2 separate regions of the Homo sapiens genome follow, and region 2 is linked to region 1. Evidence: promoter capture Hi-C in 16 types of primary human blood cells and fetal thymus (Javierre and others, 2016). All regions are on one chromosome and are shown on one strand. Each heading gives the region's core, a stretch centred on a gene start or on the middle of the fragment in contact. The rest is flanking DNA. Distances are from core to core; before and after follow the strand shown.

The links. Contacts are between HindIII fragments. The CHiCAGO score rates a contact against its expected background, and 5 or more counts as called.
Region 2: a contact is called between a fragment that was not itself captured here and the fragment with the promoter of CYP39A1 in region 1, in 2 of 17 cell types (fetal thymus and total B cells). The highest score is 5.1, in fetal thymus.

Annotation. Positions count from the first base shown.
Region 1 is chr6:46,650,721-46,656,182 of GRCh38, forward strand. It overlaps CYP39A1 (cytochrome P450 family 39 subfamily A member 1), which reads right to left and starts at 2,098. Exons shown (of 12, transcript NM_016593.5): 1 at 1,686-2,098. The coding sequence starts at 1,862. SLC25A27 (solute carrier family 25 member 27) reads left to right here and starts at 2,255. Exons shown (of 9, transcript NM_004277.5): 1 at 2,255-2,578; 2 at 5,123-5,314. The coding sequence starts at 2,473. RefSeq lists enhancers at 2,003-2,052, 2,283-2,412 and silencers at 2,073-2,162, 2,593-2,692. The HindIII fragment of the contact is 2,676 bases long and covers 160-2,835 here.
Region 2 is chr6:46,125,003-46,130,464 of GRCh38, forward strand. ENPP4 (ectonucleotide pyrophosphatase/phosphodiesterase 4) reads left to right here and starts at 4,987. Exons shown (of 4, transcript NM_014936.5): 1 at 4,987-5,187. It also overlaps a transcript of CLIC5 not described here. The HindIII fragment of the contact is 3,764 bases long and covers 837-4,600 here.

The sequences.
Region 1 (5,462 bases), core at 848-3,347:
TCCCGGGCTGGTCTTAAATTCCTGGCCTCAAGCAATCCTCCCACCCCTGCCTCCCAAAGTGTTGGGATTACAGGTGTGAGACACAGAGTCCAGCAATAACTTGTTTTGTTTAGTCAGGAAAGCAATAGAGACCTCACAAATATTTAGCCTTCTGACACAAGCTTGTAAAAAAACAGTTCCTTAAAAATTATCAAGATCATATGCATAAGGAAGGCTGTGGGAGACAAAGGAGTATTTCTTTAGGAGATATAATGTTTCATCTATCAGACTAGCAAAAATTGCAAAGAATTATGGTATTCAGTATGGCCCAGGATTTGAGAAGTTAGGCAATTGCATACAGTCAATGGAAAATAAAAATTGCATATTCATACTTCTTTTTCCAAAAGTAACACATTCATATAAACAATTTAAGTGTGCATGTCCTTTGACTCAGCAATTCTACTCCTAGGAATTTATTCTGAGTAAACAATCAGATAATTGCAAAATGTACAACCACACAATCAATACATGCACACAAACACGCAAGAATGTTCACTGAAGCACTGGCTGAAAGAAAAAAGTTTGGCAGCAACCTATAAACCCAACTATTGAGATTTAAGTAAACTATTGTATCCTCCTATGACAAAATATAGCCATAAAAGGAAGATTCAAAGTATTTCATGGTACAGGAAAGTCATTCACATTATATGTTAAAATCAAAAGCACATAAAAGAGTATTATACTATTATTCCATTGTTGTTCATTAAATAGTTGTAAATACATAGGAAAATGACCAAAATAATATAAATACACTAAATTTTTACAGTACAGCTGGTGTGATATTCTGGGTTATTTTTATTTTCATCTTAGTTCTCTTTAATTTTCTATATGTTTTTTACTAAATTGGAATCTCAGAGATTTTGAAGGCAAATGATCAGTGGTAAAATAATGCTACTACGTATAAATTCATTCTACAAATTGGGCTAACCAGATGGAAAATGGGTCACCACAGAAAGTATTATAATTCATAAGAATAATTATAATATCATACAAATTTATTAGACAATCAAATACCATAAAATATTTGTGACTGGAAATTGAATAAAACTTAAAAGACATTAATAAAGGTCTGTTCCTTAAAGTGCTCAGACATTTAAAAGATACTTTCAAGACAAAAACATCTACTACAAGGAGGATTACTAGTCTCTTCAGGCCGTAGTGAAAATGGAGTACATCATCATCAAATAACAACGTCAGCTAAAAATACAGAGCCTGTTTATTGTGTACGGACCAACTGTGCAAGCAATTTGTACAATACTTTGGTGTTAACTCCAATTTGGATACGAATTACTCATTTTCACAAACTTAAATTGGATTACACTTTATCTTTCCCAATTACTGAAAACATTTACTTAACACATACACATTTGGAACTTAACTTCGATGAAGTAAAAATACGAAAAGTTAATCTCTACTTCCAAAAATGTCGATGCACGCTGCAATTGTATTTCATTTCTTTCGCAAAATTTTGCACAGGATATTGTTGTTAATTGTTAGTAGAGGAATTCAGAAATGACTAGATCCTTTAGTTGAGGCAAGCAGGTATGTTCCCCGTGTTCTAGCCCTGCACTTAAGAGTCAATGAAAGAAAGTTTAAAAAAGAAAGCATTGTCTCCTCTGGAGACCCCGTCTGCCACGACCACATACCTTGATTCTTGCTTTCTCTATAAATTCTAGAGGGGCTTTCCCAAACTCAAATCCAACTCCAATCCAAGGAATCCAGCCCTTGATGCACGGGGGTCTACGCAAATTCTTCCGCTGAAGGAGTAAGAACAGAGCAAGGCAACCCAGGATTATAATCACTGTTGGGGAAATTAGTTCCATGTTTTTGTCCAGCACCTTCCAGAAGCAGAAAAGTGTGAAACAGTCCTGCCGTCCCTTGCTTCTTTTCTGTGGGCTACGGAACCTGTCGGGACTCCCAACCTTTCTGCTGCAACTTTTGCAGCTCTCCTTCGTAACTGTAGCTTCCTTCCTCTGTCCCAGTTTTCAGGTGATTTTTCCATTGTCGCTCCCTCCCACCTCCACTTCTCTTTGAATCTCAGCCAGCGCGGAAAAAATGCAAGGAGGGGCAGGGCCGGGCTAGGACTGACGGGCGAGAACCAGCCGCGTTGCCATGGAGGCCGGGGGCGGAGCCGCAGAGGGACCCGCGGCCGGCCAATCAGAGACGTAGCGGAGCCCGGCGGACTACATTGCCCAGTAACCTCCTGGGCTCCGCTGTGTTTTTCTATTCTGGGGTGTAAGGGGCAGCTGGACCACTCCAGCTGGGACTGCTAGGAAGGTTGCGGGTCCACCCGGCCGAGCCGAACGAGGGAAATGGTCCTCACCCGGCCACTCGCCGGTTGAAAAGGGGCCGCCCTGGCAGGGAAGCGGCCGCCGCGGCGCGGTGCAGCGCAGCGGCGAGAAGGAGTGCGTTATCGTCTTGCGCTACTGCTGAATGTCCGTCCCGGAGGAGGAGGAGAGGCTTTTGCCGCTGACCCAGAGATGGCCCCGAGCGAGCAAATTCCTACTGTCCGGCTGCGCGGCTACCGTGGCCGAGCTAGGTACCCGGCTGCCCACGCCTGGGCCTCCCGGGCCAGTGGCACGCGCCGCGCTGGGGGAGGGTGCGCGGGCGGCTTCGCGCCCGGCAGTGCGCATCGGAGAGGTCGCCCCTTCCATGCCCGCCTGGCAGAGGTGGCGGTGGAGGCCAGGCCCGCGGTGGGAGGAGGAGGGATTGAGGTCTCCACGGCCTTTTCCTTCTAATCTCTTCTAATGCTTCCCTTAGGCATGTGCTGTGGTGCTTGAATGTTGTACTTTAAGAAGCTTCGCGAGCTGTCATTCCTCTGTAGGAATCATTTTCCTTTTCATGAGGATGACCTTTTTAAAAACGTAATCTGTTTTCCATCCTTACTGAGATCATCTCTGTGGTTTATAGTCTTACACAGCCACACTGTCATTATCTTGTGGGTCCAAGTTGTGGACCTACCTTGTGGGACTTCCGTTATTAACCTGCCACTCACAGAGCATCGACTACTTGACCTCTTTGAGTGTAATTCATCTATACTGTTTACCTTGCAGGATTCTGAGAAGTCAATAATATATGATTGCTAAACCCAAGGCAGGACACCCATTAGTTGCGACATTTTTATAATTCCTACAATACCAGGGACTGTGGATATATATTTGAAAAGACCCAGTTCTGACCTTCTTACAGGCTGCTGGGGAGACAGAGAAAGACAATTATAATGTGCTACTTGTTATAATGAAGATATTATTAGGTGTCATAAAAGCATAGAAGAGCAGTTACATCTGCCTACATGAGTAAGAAAAAACTTTAAGAGGCCATCTAGAGTGGAATGATGATGCCCTTGAATGAGCAAGTAGCGTTTATTCCAAGGATTTTGTGAGTAGTATACTCATGTGTTTCCTGTGAAGCCTTAACTGTGTATTTTAAGATTACCCTTACATTTTCTTGCCTGTTACAAAAAAATAAAAAGAACAGTTCTGATGCGTTATCATTTGTAAATGTTAGTTGGTCCTATTTTAAGAGTTTATTTTTTAATTCTAGCATAGCCAGCCATGATCAGTTGTTTCGTGCTCTTCCATTTTTGCCTTTTAGCCCCTCTATTTTTTAATGTCTCTCCTTTCGAAAATGATGGAGAATTTTTACTTTTCATTGTTTTTACTGAAATAAAATTCATCAGCTTAAAAAGATCTAAAAGCAGATTGCTGAATGATATTTCCAGGTTTTATTTTTAATTGATGTGTCCCCCTCTGACTCAATGGCTTTTATACAGGACTATTCCTCGTTAAAAATTCATGGAGAGAATTGTGTGTGGAGAATGGATGGGAATCAAAATGTGGGATGGTTTTAAGTACAAACCACTTCAGGAACCTGAAGCATCATTTAACAAACCAGCGAGAAAACAAAACTTATTTTGAAAGACATAATCTGTGTAATATGGAGAAATCTATTAAGATTTTTCAGGTTTCATATGTCAATAAAATATTGCTTGAAGTCTATGCAAGCTACTTCTGTTCTAGGGAAACTGTCAGCAAGATACTAACTTTTCCAAAAACCAGTGGTAAGATTTAATATTCACTTCCCTTCCCCACATTGTTTTCTCTTGGAAAAGGTATACTAAGGTTTTGTGTCAGGTGGTGGTCATTGAAAAGTCTTATATAATGTAAGTAATGTTCATGAACTTGTCTGAATGTTATTATTTTAATTATTCAGGACGTTTTCTGTATAAGGTTATGAGCTCTATCTTCCTTATGTAGGCCGTTTAGCTTAACTGTATTAAGGTAAAAGGTCTGTATCTAATTTAAAACTTAAAACCAAAAAATTTTTCCAAAATACAGTTAGTACTTGTAAGGAGGCCATGAGTAGGCGATGCATATAATTTAGTGCTGGAAAAATAATTCCATATATGCTTTAATTGAAAGGATATTGAGCTTATGACCCTTGCATATAAAAGACAACATTATAAACTCCATTACATCTTCTGTATCTCAAACATTATGTCAGTCATTCATCTGCATGTGAACATCACCCACGAAATTATAGAGTTCAGCTTCATCTAGCATTTGTTATAGTACATAAGAATATATAGTGCAGTATTCTAATGTTACATTAGATCTCAAATAATCATGGCTGCAGTCAAGAGGATAGCACACAATATGGTACTTTAAATTATTTCCCATTGAAAAGCAAAAATTAATGACTAACAGATATTAAAGTTAAATTTCTGAATAGAAAGAACCCAAGGCTTGTCATTTTAATTTTTATTGTTAATGTTTGTTTTTTTTTTTTTTTTTTTTTTTTTTTTTTTTTTTTTTGCTAGTGATCCAGGATGCTCTTGCGTAGTGATTCTTAAATTTGGGACTGTGTGAGAATCAAGTTTCTAAACCCTCTTCAACCTACTGAATTAGAATCCATGGGCACGGGGCTAGGAAATTTCTAATTTTTAAAATCTCCCTAGCTGATTCTGATATATTCTAAAATTTGAGAACAACCAGTCTTGGGAAAATATTACTCCTATGATTTTAGATTTTTGTTTGTTTCTCTGAATGTTGTGGGTTTTTCCCTGCATTTGTGTTTTTGTTAGCAACCTTTCCCCTGGATCTCACAAAAACTCGACTCCAAATGCAAGGAGAAGCAGCTCTTGCTCGGTTGGGAGACGGTGCAAGAGAATCTGCCCCCTATAGGGGAATGGTGCGCACAGCTCTAGGGATCATTGAAGAGGAAGGCTTTCTAAAGCTTTGGCAAGGAGTGACACCCGCCATTTACAGACACGTAGGTATTTATCTTGATTCTAGCTGGTAAGTTTGTTATGAGTTCTGTGTTTGTCTCCTGTGCTTTTCTGTTTGTCCAAAAACAAGTTAGTTTTTTTATCTTACTGATACAATAACTGAACACATACAGCACATAGTCTTTTTTTATTATTA
Region 2 (5,462 bases), core at 1,469-3,968, 530 kb before region 1:
GTGGAAGACAGTGTGGCGATTCCTCAGGGATCTAGAACTAGAAATACCATTTGACCCAGCCATCCCATAACTAGGTATATACCCAAAGGATTATAAATCATGTTGCTATAAAGACAAAAGCACACATATGTTTATTGCAGCACTACTCACAATAGCAAAGACTTGGATCCAACCCAAATGTCCAACAATGATAGACTGGATTAAGAAAATGTGGCACATATACACCACAGAATACTATGCAGCCATAAAAATAATGAGTTCATGTCCTTTGTAGGGACATGGATGAAGCTGGAAACCATCATTCTCAGCAAACTATCGCAAGGACAAAAAACCAAACACCGCATGTTCTCACTCATAGGTGGGAATTGAACAATGAGAACACTTGGACCCAGGAAGGGGAACATCACACACCAGGGCCTGTTGTGGGGTGGGAGGAGAGGGGAGGGATAGCATTAGGAGATATACATAATGTAAATGACGAGTTAATGGGTGTAGCACACCAACATGGCACATGTATACATATGTAACAAACTTGCACGTTGTGCACATGTACCTTAGAACTTAAAGTATAATTAAAATATATATATATATTTTTAAAAAGTTAAAAAAATAGTTTAAGCAAAAAGATAATTTACTGAGTCATGTAAAGTGAAAAGTCCAAGGATGGAGCTTCAGGTTAACTTGGACCCACGTGCTCAATGTCATCACGTGTTGGACTCCAGCTCTTGGCTTTGCTTTCTTCTCAGGTAGACTTTCCCTTTACAGTGACAATGATGGCCACCAGCAGCTTCAGTGATTGCTAAATAGGTAGATTATCAACAATTGCCAAATAGGTAAGCTTATACTCTACCTATTTAGCAATTGTTGCTGAAACAGGGACTCTTTCCCAATTATTTCAACAAAAGTTTCAGAATTGAGTCTTTATGGCCTGGACTGAGGCATGTCCCCATCACTGAACTAATTCATGTGGTTAATGGAGTAAAATTGGCTCCAAAAGGCCAAGTTTGAGTCAGGCTTAGGGTGACCAACTCACCCCGATTTGCTTGTTGCTTTTCTGATTTTAGGATTAAAAATCCCATGTCCCAGGAACCTCTTCCATTTGGGACAAACCAAGATAGCTGGCACCTTAGGAGTCTGCCCCGTGGATGAGGGGAATTAACAGTCAGCCCCATCTGACTCCCATAGTCAAAGAATGAAGGTGGGTTTGTCTCTTGGAGGAATTGCCAGAAGGAGGAGGAATGAATGCTGGGCAGGCAAAAGCAAGAGAGTAATGTCCTCTCCATTCATTTTCTTAGATTAGAGGCACCTTGAGGGCAAGGAATTAATCTTACTTATTTTTGTATCTTTTGAAAAATTGAGCACATTGCTCTCCACATAGGAAAGCCTCAAAAGAATTTATACTGATTCTTTCACAGCTTTATTAAATATTTGAAAAAATTCCTTTAGAGTGAAGGTCTAACACAATAGTTCATGGTGGTTAATACAGAATCATTTTTTAAAGGAGCACTTAAAAATATTTTACAATCTTAACTTGATTGAGATTATTCCAATATAATCTTACTGAAAATGGAGTAGGTGAAAAGTTTTCACCAAAGGAACTTTCAAAATCACTAAAATGCAATGATTCATAAGGTCCTTTTCCCCTGTTATATTTAAGATAAAATCTGTATTACTTAAACATCTAATTTATATTAAAAAGTGAACCTTAAATACTCTCCTTGACATTCAATTATTTAGTTTCAGTTGTGTTGTTGTTTAATTAGAACTGAGCAGTGGACAGGAATTGTTTTTCTTTGGGAAGCGTGTGGCTTTTGCTCTGAAACCTTCTTCCTGTAACTTCTAACTTCTGACCTTCTCCTGGCCAGCAATGAGTTATACATCACAATTAGGAGTATAAAAGAGAAATAATTGTATAGAGAGCTATGTCTTAAATTTTGAAAACAGGATAAGATTTTTAAAATATTTTGTGTTAATGAATAAATGTTCAGTCTTGAGCGTAGTTCATGGGAGAAAAAGAAACTGCCTTTGACATGCTGCTTCCAAATCTGACATTGCCCCATAGAGGCAAATGCTCTAGTTGTACTTAGTTTTTGTGTATTGATAAATAATATTTCTATACATTTATAGGGCAGATGTGATATTTTGTTACATGCATTGAACGTGTAACAATCCAGTCAGGGTATTTAGGGTATCCATTACCTCGAGTATTTATCATTTCTATGTGATGGGAACATTTCAAGTCCTGTCTTCTAGCTATTTTGAAATATAAAATACATTTAACTATAGTCACCCTACTCTCCTATCAAACATTAGAATATATTTCTTCTATCTAACTGTATGTTTGCTCAGTCATTTCTCTGTGGGGTATATTCATTTGTAAATAATAAGTTTAGACTATTGCCTCTAATTCATTTCAATCTCTAACATAAAATGGGTTTAAAGGCTCTCTATATTTCCAAAATTTATATAAAATTCCCTTTGCAAAAGCTGAGCTGAAAGAACATTATAAATGAATATTATTTTGCCTACCTAAATAAAACAACACTTATGCCTAAAAATCACATTGTAAATAAGAAATTTATGTTACTATTATGTTTTCTTTTATTATCATTAAAGTTCTACAATGAAACTATAGTGAACTTTGTGGCCGGCTTCCCAGCACCCATTCCAACTCATTTCCATTGAGAAAAAAAGTAAAGTTTGGGTGAGACCTCAGTTTAAGATGTGGACTGCATTGGTCTACAGGTAACCATATCCTTTGCTGGCTTAGATTTGGATATGTGACACAATTCTGTCCAAAGTGATTAAAGGAGACAGTTGCTGAAGACTTCTAAGAGACAGAAGAAATCTAGACGTCATTTCTATCACCCAGTGGAAGTGAAAAATGAATTACATGGTTCCTGTTGCTGCTGGTAGTTATATTTACCACTAAAGGAACCAGAAGTCTACTCTGTTAAAAGCCAAGTGTAAAGCTGCAAAGAACTGAGTACATTATGAAATCGTTGAGTTGCTAACTCAACCAGTCCTGAAGTCTGCCTTACCTCTGGACTTCTTGTTCCACAAGACGATAAATATCCTTACTATAACAGGATTTTGGTTGTGGTTGAAATGGTAAATATATAGAGGATAACAAAAGTTTAGGGCCAAAGGTCCTTATGTGTCATTTTGTCCCTCTGTTCCTGACCACTTTATCTTACAGAGCAAGAGCCCAGGTGGCATGAGACTCCCTAATTTAACCCAGCCACACAGGCAGTAGCAGTGGATAAAGAGAGTCCTCTCCTGATGCCCATCCAGCTGCTATCTTCACCACACATCTGACCTAGATGGCATTCAGTTTTGTCCACCCTTTAAGCATACATATGCACCTACTGAATGAACAAACAGGATATGCACAATACCCCCAAATGCCACAAAATTTAAGTTCTGCTAATCTTAAATGTTATGTCATTGGACATTACCTAAATTCCCCCAAAACTTGGCCTTACCCTGACTATTGTTCAAATTGGGGTACTTTTTTGGTCATAATGATAATAATCCCCAAAACAACATGTGTCAGATACTGTGCTGAATACTCTACTCGCTTTCCTCATTCATTTGATAGTAAGAGGTTGGTATTGTAACAAGACGCGTTTTGCAGATGAGGAAATGAAAGCTCAAATAGGTTGAGACACTGGCCCATGATTGCTCTGCTGGTGAGTGACAGAGTGAGTATTCAAACCAGGTTCTAGGGTCTGCAGGTTCTAGGGATTCAGCTACAGACCCACTACCATCCCCTCCAGCTCTGAAAGCCCATGGATCTAAGATGCCCATATTCACCAATGCACAGGCCAACCTGAGACTTAAAACTGGAATTAATTTATCAAGGCACAAACTAATAATCAACGGAATACATCTATTGCCAAATCATCTCCATGGCTGCTTCCAGATTGTTGGTAATAGCTATACTGTAAGGTTCAGACCAAGGGGACCAACGTCAGAATTTGTTATCTAAGGTCCAGTACTGCAGTTTACTAATCCAGGTACTGGATTTACAGCTATTAAATACTTAACACTTGAGGATATCACATGTGATTAATATTCTTAATTTATTTGTACTTTTTATTTGAGCTGGAGATACAGTAGTGAACAAGAAAGAAAATACCTTCTGGAGCCTGCATTTTAACAAGCGGGACAATTAAATTCAATAGTGATTTAGCAAGTACTTCTATACCAAGTTCTGTTTGGCACTACAGATAAAAAGAAAAAAGATGCTATCCTCTCACTGCCAAGTGTGCCTGGACAACCCAACTGTTAGCGAATAATTCTACTTCTGTTTGGTAACTGCTCTTTATGTTGGAAAGTTTAGTTACATTATTCTATTAAATAACCTTCCAATTAAAAGCAGGAGCACAATCCCACATACGCGTCTGTCAAAGTAAGCACCCATTTCTCAGCTGTAACTCATTACTGGTTCCCTGCCGCAGGCACTGTGCTGCTTTTAACCTTACTTGTAAACTATTACCTAACTTCCCCGGTAAAGGTGCTCGCTTATCCAGTAAGACGGACAGACGTCTATGGTAGATCCACGTTTCATTTATCCCAACTCACTGGAACTGGCTGAAGCTTCTCCAGACTTGTGCCGGACCTTGGTGCAGCCAAAGTTGCTTTCTCCGCGGCCACCTAAGCTGCCAGGTGCACATTAACTAAGTGGCAGAAGGCCATCGGCTTGGCAATTGCCTGAGGCCTTTCCGGGACTCGCTGGTTTTTAGGTTCCATGAAGGGCATCCAGATCTAGGATGATACGAAAAGTGCGTGGTGGGAGAGTGGAATCAACCTCTACTCTTAGGTCCGATACAACCCCTCCAAGCACCTGTCTAACCAATCGGAAAGAAAGTTACATTCAACGCTGGTTCTAGCATCCAATCCAAGGACGTGTTTCAGACTCTGCTGCCCGGTCCCAGCCAGCCCTGAGCTGGCGCCTTAGACGCTCGCCTGGCAGCTGCGCACACTCGGAGCGCCCCGAGCGGCGCAGATAGGGACGTTGGGGCTGTGCCCCGCGGCGCGGCGCCTGCCACTGCGCAGGCGCCTCAGGAAGAGCTCGGCATCGCCCCTCTTCCTCCAGGTCCCCCTTCCCCGCAACTTCCCACGAGTGCCAGGTGCCGCGAGCGCCGAGTTCCGCGCATTGGAAAGAAGCGACCGCGGCGGCTGGTGAGTACGCGCCTCGCGCGCTCGGCGTTCTGGGGGGCAATGTCACCCCCTCTCCAGTCCCCTAGGGGCTTTGAAAATAGAGATGGTGAGACCAGACCCTATGACCCACTCTCCCCCACTACACGCACATCCCCTGGGGCGCGGCGGGGACGTCCACGAAGGGACTCAAAGAGCCAGGGAGGTGGCGGGCCGAGGCGGAGGCCAGGAAGGGAAGAGGAAAGAAAAATTAGCAGGTGCTGGGGAAGGCAACCTGTGGTGTTAAGTGTGAAGGGAGG